2 separate regions of the Homo sapiens genome follow, and region 2 is linked to region 1. The links are contacts of gene promoters, found by promoter capture Hi-C in blood cells and fetal thymus (Javierre and others, 2016). All regions are on one chromosome and are shown on one strand. Each heading gives the region's core, a stretch centred on a gene start or on the middle of the fragment in contact. The rest is flanking DNA. Distances are from core to core; before and after follow the strand shown. Region 1 holds the start of ADGRE1 (adhesion G protein-coupled receptor E1). Region 2 overlaps ACSBG2 (acyl-CoA synthetase bubblegum family member 2).

Region 1 (4,499 bases), core at 1,348-3,847:
GGGAGGCCAAGGTGGGAGGATCACTTGAGACCAGCAGTTTGACACCGGCCTGGACAACACAGTGAGACTTTGTCTCTACAAAAAAAAAATTTTTTAAATTAGCTGGGTGGTGGTGACAACTTGTAGCCCCAGCTACTCAGGAGGCTGAGGTGGAAGGATTGCTTGAGCCCAGGAGATAGAGACTGCAGTGAGCCAAGATCATGCCACTGCGCTCCAGCCTAGGTGACCCTGTCTAAAAAAAAAAGTTCTAGCTGATTTTCAAAAACATACATTAAAGCATGCATTCTCAAAAGGGGTGATATATCCTCTAAGGACCCAAACTTGGTTCTCAGGAAGAGATCTTTTTAAGCTTACTCTTTTATGTATAAGATACATATGTATATATAGAAAATACATATATAGGTATACAGTATATCTGTAGTATTAACATTTCATGAGAGGGTAGGGCAATTCGTTTTTCTTTCCTTTTTTTTTTTTTTTTTTTTTTTGAGATGGAGTCTCACTCTGTCACCAGGCTGGAGTGCAGTAGCGTGATCTAGGCTCACTGCAACCACCAACTCCCTGGTTCAAGCTATTCTCCTGCCTCAGCCTCCCGAGTAGCTGGGATTACAAGCACGCACCACCACGCCCAGCTAATTTTTGCATTTTTAGTAGAAACGGGGTTTCTCCATGTTGGCCAGGATGGTCTCGATCTCCTGACCTCATGATCTGCCTGCCTCAGCCTCCTAAAGTGCTGGGATTACAAGCGTGAGCCACTGCGCCCTGCCCATTTTTTAGTGTTTAAAGGCAATGCAGCCCTGCAGCATTTAGGTCTCCTGCACCATCATCATTATCGCCATCATTATCACTATCATCATCACCATCATCATCTTCATCATCACCATCATCATCATCATTATTATCACCATCATCACCATTATCATCATCACCATCACCATTATCACCATCACCACCATCATCATCATCACCACCATAATCACCAACATCACCATCTTCATCGTCATTATCACACCATCATCACCACCATCATCATCATTATCCCTATCATCACCATTATCATCATCACCATCATCACCATCTTCATGGTCATTATCACACCATCATCATCACCATCATCTTCATTATCACTATCATCACCATTATCATCATCATCATCATCACCATCACCATCATCATCACCATTTTCATCATCACTATTATAACCACCACCATCATGATCATTATCATCACTATCATTATCACAACTCTTTGCTGATTATCTTCAGGGCAGAATAGGGAGTGTTAATGGTTAATACCATTGCCAACACCCCAAAATAACAACTCTGCATGCCTACATTTGATGTCCACAGGCCACCTATTTCTTCTAATGTAGCCTGCCAGTCAACAAGTCCCACAGATCTAAACTCCCAAATTCTATCTATTATTACTAACAAAAATTCTTCTACTCATTCATTAATTATTTTAGAGGTAATTCAGCATGCTGTTTAGGCATACAAAGTCTGAAGTCAAAGTGCTTAGGTTTAAAAATCTGGCTTCACCAATTAATGATTGCGTGGCCTTGAGGAAGTTATTTAATCTCTTTGTGCCTCAGTTTCCTCCTTGGTAAAATAGGGTATTCAGATCCACTCTTCAACAGCAGAGGAAACCCATACTTGCTACTTAGAATATGTCCCCAATATCCTCCATTCTTAAATTTGATCCAATGACCAAAACACACAAGACATAGAAGAAAAACCAGAAACACAGAAGATAAACAAGGCTGAGACAAACTGACACCTGAAGAAAGAGAAATAAGAGCACAGGAAGGGTCTATCTCATCCTTCAGGACTCAGCTCGAACTGCCCCTCCTCAACCCCAGACTTCTCCCTTCAACATAACTCCCGACCACATTCTATAACAACTTCTTTCATAGCACTTATCACTACCTGAAATTCCTATGTTTACTTATTTTTTGGGGCAACATAGTATAGTGGAAAAGCTTACAGACTCTGAAGTCAGACTGTCTGGCTTGAAATCCTGCCTCTACCCCTTATTGACTAAGTGGCCTTGGGAAAATTATTTTATCTCTTTTGCCTCAGTTTTCTCATTTGCAAAATAGGACTAATAATGACCCAATGTCATAGAAATGTTGTGACAATTGGATACACTCTATGTTTAAAGAAGTTACAGCAGTGCTAAGTGGGCTATGATCATCTGTGCCTTCTTTCCTGTCTGCTCCTACCCACTAGAATATCAGCCTCAAGAGTGCAGGAACTTAGTCTTTTTTTCTCACTGCTATATCCTCTAGTGCCTAGAACAGCACCTGACACACAGGACTTGCTCAGGTCAAATGAATGACTATAGAGAAAAATCTATCCTAACAGATGGACTTCCCTGAGCTATGGAATTTTGTCAAAGGTTCCCTGAATGAAGGTGTTTGCAGCATCCAGTCTGGACTTATGATCTCTTGGCTGGACCATCCATGGCCCTCCCATTTCTCCTGAAGTCTATTTCCAATCCAGGCCTCCCCTAGCCCCCCATTCAGCCTCACACTCACCCCAGAAGAGGAGCAGGTTGAAGCCACGCATTATGCTGTAGTTCTGTCATTCAAAGAAAAGAAACTTTTCTACTAACGCTGGGTTTTCAGTAACCAGAAGGTGTGCGAAGAGGGGAAGGCGGAGTCAGAGTTGCTCAATGCTGCCTGGTCATCATAGCCCTTTTTGCTGACTTGCTGCAACTAAAAGACAGCCTAGAAAATCCTAATTTCCCCCTTTCTTCACAATAAAGAGAAGTTAATCTGCCTAATGTATATCATTCTCTCTCTCTCTCCTTCCCATGGTCTCTCCCTTTTTCTTTCCCATCAACATCTATCTCCCATCTCTCAACACCTTCTTTCATTGCACCCAATAAAGGAGCTTCCGCTTCCTGCCTCCAGTGAAGCAAATCTCAGCCTTTAGGGTCTCTTCCCAGTCTCCCGTATAAAGACAGCCATCACAACCATCATGTACCAGGCAGTGTGCTAGGCACATTGGCAACAAAGTGTAATTTCATTATCATGTTAACCTTGTAAAGTAGGAATTCCCCTCCCTCCCTCTATTCACCAACAAAATGGAAACTGAGACTTGCAGAGGAGTTATAACTTGTCCAAGATCTCTCAGACTTGAGATTTGAACCCAGGACCCTCTGATTCCAGAGTCAAGAGCTTTAACCATCTTATTTTCCTTCAGATCTCAACTCTGTCTGACGATTATACAGCAACACTTCCACCCCATTCCCAGCTTCCTAACTCTCTCTGGTAACATCTTAGGGTCTCACAAGGGCAGACCCTCAGACAAGGATTCTAGCAAAAGTAGTTTATCAAGAAGGTGGCCCCAGAAAGCACCAGCTGGGGGAGGAGAAAGTGAATCAGGAAAGGCAAAGAGCCAATACTGGGTGTGTCTTCAAATAAGTTACATGGTGAGAAAGTGGAACTTAACCTCCCCAGGGATGACTGGGGAGCGGCATGGAACATACTCTTCAGTTATTCCAACCGAGGGGTGAGGGAGCTGAGGTATTTATATCCCACCTACTGTCAGTCATGGGTTGACTTGAGGCTTGCTCCTAGAGGGTGTCAACCCCTTGAATCTTCAGGCCTGGCCTCCAAGCAGATAGAATGGGCTCCAGTTGATGTAATCCCACTGATAACAAAGTGTAGTGACTGGCAGATATTGAAGCAGTGTCATCCATCTGGGGTAATACCCGAGGTTCATTGCCTCACACCAAGGAAATAGAAAATACAGACATGGCCGGGCACCGTGGCTCACACCTGTAATCTCAGCACTTTGGGAGACTGAGGAGGGTGGATTACGAGGTCAGGAGTTCAAGACCAGCCTGGCCAAGATGGGGAAACCCCGTCTTTACTAAAAATACAAAAAATCAGCCAGTGTGGTATGGTGTTAGGCACCTGTAATCCCAGCTACTCCGGAGGCTGAGGCAGAGAATTGCTTGAACCCAGGAGGCGGAGGCTGCAGTGAGCCGAGATCGTGCCACTGCACTCCAGCCTAGGCAACAGAGTGGGACTCTGTCTTAAAATAAAATAAAATAAAATAAAATAAAATAAAATAAAATAAAATAAAATAAAATGCAGACACACAAAAAATTACTTTTAGAGCAGAGGTTTAGGCCGAGCACAGTGGCTCATGCCTGTAATCCCAGCACTTTGGGAGGCTGAGACGGGTGGATCACCTAAGATCAGGAGTTTGAGACCAGCCTGGGCAACATAGTGAAACCCCATCTCTACTAAAAATACAAAAATTAGCCAGGTGTGGTGGCTCATGCCTGTAATTCCAGCTACTCAGGAGGCTGAGGCAAGAGAATCGCTTGAACCCGGGAAGCAGAGGTTGCAGTGAGCCGAGATTGTGCCATTGAACTCCAGCCTGGGTGACAGAGCAAGACTCCATCTCAAAAAAAAAAAAAAAAAGAAAGAAAGAAAAGAAATTTAATAGGCGAGAGAAAGAGAAAAGCTCTCTCTCCTGCAAAGA
Region 2 (4,712 bases), core at 820-3,319, 740 kb after region 1:
TGGGTGGATCTCTTGAGGCCAGGTGTGGTGGCTCACACCTGTAATCCCAGCACTTTGGGAGGCCAAGGCACGTGGATCTCTTCAGGTCAGAAGTTCGAGACCAGCCTGGCCCACAAGATGAAACCCCGTCTCTACTAAATATACAAAAAATTAGCCGGGCGTGGCAGCACCTGCCTGTAGTCCCAGCTACTTGGGAAGCTGAGGCAGGAGAATTGCTTGAACCTGGAGGCTGAGGCTGCAGTGAGCCAAGATCGTGCCACTGCACTCCAGCCTGGGCAACAGAGTGAGACTCTGTCTAAAAAAAAAAAAAAAAAAAAAAGTTGCACATGTAAAGGTACAGACTTGTTCTGAATGTGGGTGAGAATGAACCAGGAAACTCAGAAACAAAAGTGAGCATCCTTAGGGGAAAACTCCCTCTTTGTTCTGGGTACTGCCAACCAACGTTGTTGGCTCTTTTAGTCATACGGGATCACGGCTGGCAATGATCTGCTGTTCTTGGGGGAAAAGGAACCATTTGGAAGGCATTTGCCTGCTGGTCCTTCAGAATGAGATGCCAAGTATTTCAGTAACCAAAAGGCTGGCTTTATTGTGGACAGAGTGTGTTTTTATTAATGCCTAGTTACACCGACTAATTTCTACTTGGGTCTCCAAGTAGTTTTGTTTGTTTTTATTTTTGGTTTTGTTTCTACTTCGGTCTCCAAGTTTTGTTTGTTTGTTTGTTTTTTGAGATGGAGTTTCACCCAGGCTGGAGTGCAGTGGCACAATCTCGGCTCACTGCAACCTCTGCCTCCCGGGTTCAAGCGATTCTCCTGCCTCAGCTTCCTGAGTAGCTGGGATTACAGGTGTGCACCACCACACCTGGCTAATTTTTGTATTTTTAGTGTAGATGGGGTTTCACCATGTGGGCCAGGCTGGTCTCAAACTCTTGACCTCTTGACCTTGATCCGCCCACCTTGGCCTCCCAAAGTGCTGGGATTACAGGCATGAGCCACCGTGCTCAGTCAGGTGTCCAAGATTTACGGGAGGAGGGGGACCTTTAACTCCACGGAACTAAGAACATGGCTAAAGGAGACCATCTTTCAGGAGAGATGAACTAGCCACAGCAACATAGTATGAAGGTGGGGCCCCCAAGAAGAAACCCAGCCCAAGCACATGGTTCTCTTTTTTTTTTTTTTTCTTTATGACACCATCTCACTCTGTTGCCCAGCTAGAGTGCAATGGTGCAATCACAGGTCATTGCAGCCTCGACCTCCGAGGCTCAAGTGATCCTCCCACCTCAGCCTCCTGATAGCTGGGACTACAGGCATGTGCCACTGCATCTGGCTACTTTTTAAATTTTTCATTGAGACTGGGGTCTCACTATGTTACCCAGGCTGGTCTTGAACTCCTGGGCTCAGTGATCCTCCTGCCTCGATGTCCCAAAGCACTAGGATTACAGACATGAGCCACTGACCCCAGCCTTGTTCCCTCTTTCTTTTGCTTCATTCATTCTAGGGGTGACTGGCAACCATGCCGTGAAGACACTCAAGCAATTCTGTGGAGAAGGCCATGGAATGAGGAGCTGAGACTTCCTGCCAACAACCAGTCATCTAGGTAAGTAAGCTTGGAAGTGAAGCCTCCAGCCCCAGTTGAGCCTTCAGATGAGATAGCCCCAGCTGATAGCTTGGCTGCAACCTCATGAGAGACCTGGAGCCAGAAGAACCCAATTTCAAAGTAGCTCCTAAATTCTCAATCCACAGAAACTGTGAGATGATAAATGTTTGTCATTTCAAGTCACTATATTTTGGGATAATTTGTTATGCAGCAGCAACTAACAAAAACATAGAGATAGTATGTTAGGGACAAATGCAAGATGCAGAACCATGGGTGTAGTAGGCTATTATGTGTGTAAAAAATTTGCATATATAAAAATTTCATTTTATATTTATGCATAATTTATTTCCCAAAAGGACACACAAAAAACTGACAATGGTGACCGCTTCCACAGAGAGGAACTGAGTGGCTGAGGCTCATGAATCAGAGGGAAATTTTCGCCAATTAACCTTTGTATCTTTTGGTGCCTTGTGAATTTTGTACCACATGTATGTATGTCTGTTACCTATTCAGAATGAATGGTTGAACAAAGGAGAATGAATGAATGAATCTTACCTTGATCAAGGATTTTGCAGCCTTCCGACAAGCCTCATAGTACTGGTTGAAATTCAGAATTTCCCACTTTTTGCCATTCTTGGATGCGAGGGCTGGATAAGTTCCAAATCGGTTGACTGACTCTCGAAAAAATTCAGGGATGGTCATCGGGGTCTCATGGCCTGGTCCGTGTTTGGATAGCCTCAGAAGGACTTCTCCATCTCGACAGGTGGTCCACAGCCTGGGAGTAACTGCAAATAGTCACCAGAGTTGGGTGGCAAATGTTTTTATTTATTTAATAACTTTGGACGGGGGGCGGTTGGTGTCTTTTTGGACCTAAGGTGCTGAGAGTTGAATTAATCCCCTTCTAGGGTGAAGTTATGTGGTCAACACTGGCAAGACAAGCTTCCTTTCTCTTTATTTATTTTTTCATTCCCCGCCCCGCCAAATTTTAATAGTCAAAAGGATTGTATACCAAATACTTTCTTATCCAACACCTAGATTCTACAACTGCTAGCGTTTTACCATATTTTATCACACATCTATCCTGCTGTCTTTGTTATGTCCATTTTTTTTTTCTTTCTTTCTTTTTTTCTGGAGACACGGTCTTGCTCTGTCAGCAGGCTGGAGTGCACTGGCACAATCACAGCTCACTGCAACCTTGACCTCCTAGGCTCAAGCCATCCTCCCACCTCAGCCTCCCAAATAACTGGAACTACAGGCAAACACCACCATGCCTAGCTAATTTATTTTTTAATGTTTTGTAGAGATGGGGTTCTACTGTGTTTCCGAGGCTGATCTCAAACTCCTGGGCTCAAACAATCCTCCTCCCTTAGTTTCTCAAAGTGCTGGGATTACAGGCATGAGCCACCGCACCTGGCCCCATCTTATTTTTTTTATTATTATTTTGTTTTGTTTTGTTTTTGTTTTTGAGACGGAGCTTTGCTTTTCTTGCCCAGGTTGGAGTACAATGGCACGATCTTGGCTCACTGCAACCTCCGCCTCCCGGGTTCAAGCGTTTTTCCTGCCTCAGCCTCCCGAGTAGCTGGGATTACAGGCATGCACCACCACGCCTCGCTAATTTTATATTTTTAGTAGAGATGGAGTTTCTCCATGTTGGTCAGGCTGGTCTCGAACTCCCGACTTCAGGTGATCCGCCCGCCTTGGCCTCCCAAAGTGCTGGGATTACAGGCATGAGCCACCGCGCCTGGCCTATTATTATTTTTTGAGACGGAGTCTCACTCTTTTGCCCAGGCTGGAGTGCAGTGGCGTGATCTTGGCTCACCCCGACCTACACCTCCCAGGTTCAAGCGATTCTTCTGCCTCAACCTGCCGAGTAGCTGGGATTACAGGCACCCGCCACCACATCTGGCTAATTTTTGTATTTTTAGTAGAGATGGGGTTTCACCATGTAGCCCAGGCTGGTCTCGAACTCCTGACGTCAAGTGATCCACCTGCCTCGGCCTCCCAAAGTGCCGGGATTACAGGCATGAGCCACCGCGCCTGGCTCCATCTGATTTTTTGATGCATTTCCAAGTGAGCCAAAGCTATTCATCCATTTACCCTTAAACACCCTTGCATGTAAATCATTAACAAGAGTCACATATTTAATATTATTTACGGAGATTTTTTTAAAGGTAAAATGTACATGCAGTGGACTATGTATGCTTTGGCCAATGAAACATAAGAAGTGAGTTATGTGTGTCGTTCATGGGGAGAAGATTTAAGACCCGGTGCATAATTCCCCATCGTCCATTGTCCTGTCACAAAAATGGTGGAGCAAATGTGAAGAAGTAGCCCCTCTCCCCCAATGCCAGACACACAACATGAGTAAGAAACACACTTGTGTTGTGTTAAGCCATTGAGGTTGTTGAGGGGGTTGTTGAGGGGGTTGCCTGTCACAGCGACATCACCCAGATCAGCCAAATGGAACTAGCAAAGGGACCAATTCAAAACCAGTTTTGGGGTCCTGTATCTATCACTTCTTTTGGGGATGAGTAAGGGTTGACACTGAGAAAGAAGAGAACAGGGTTTCCTCTGGAGACAGTTGTTGGTTTGTTGTGTGTTTCTCACTACCACCCAGTAACGGGCAAGTGAGAGAAAGTCCAAGAGACCCTCTTGGAGAATTGGGTGTGTAACCTTGCGTTTGTTCAACTGAACCTGGTCTACTGGGGAGGTGGTAGATGGCAATGGTAGAGTAGGCAGCTGTGTTGGAAGGAAATTGCACATCCACCTATGATGGGATGCTACTTTTTTTTTTTTTTTTTGAGATGGAGTCTTGCTCTATCTCCAGGCTGGAGTGCAGTGGCACAATCTCAGTTCACTGCAGCCTCCGCCTCCTGGGATCATGCGAGCTCACCGCAACCTCCACCTCCTGGGATCATGTGATTCCCCTGCCTCAGCCTCTCAAGTAGCGGGGATTACAGGTGGGCACCACCACACCCAGCTAATTTTTGTATTTTTAGTAGAGATGAGTTTCACCATGTTGGCTAAGATGGTCTCGATCTCCTCACCTTGTGATCCGCCTGCCTCGGCTTCCCAAAGTGCTGGGATTACAGGCATGAGCCACCGCGCCCGGCCGGGAT

What was found. Contacts are between HindIII fragments. The CHiCAGO score rates a contact against its expected background, and 5 or more counts as called.
Region 2: a contact is called between a fragment that was not itself captured here and the fragment with the promoter of ADGRE1 in region 1, in 1 of 17 cell types (naive B cells). The highest score is 5.8, in naive B cells.

Annotation. Positions count from the first base shown.
Region 1 is chr19:6,885,677-6,890,175 of GRCh38, reverse strand. ADGRE1 (adhesion G protein-coupled receptor E1) reads right to left here and starts at 2,597. Exons shown (of 21, transcript NM_001974.5): 1 at 2,537-2,597. The coding sequence starts at 2,567. RefSeq lists an enhancer at 2,544-2,603. The HindIII fragment of the contact is 2,856 bases long and covers 1,981-4,499 here.
Region 2 is chr19:6,145,112-6,149,823 of GRCh38, reverse strand. It overlaps ACSBG2 (acyl-CoA synthetase bubblegum family member 2), which reads right to left. Exons shown (of 15, transcript NM_030924.5): 3 at 2,149-2,378. LOC105372255 (a long non-coding RNA gene) reads left to right here. Exons shown (of 4, transcript NR_187772.1): 3 at 1,495-1,593. Among named protein-coding and RNA genes, the nearest start is that of ACSBG2, 12 kb to the right of the region's middle. The HindIII fragment of the contact is 930 bases long and covers 1,605-2,534 here.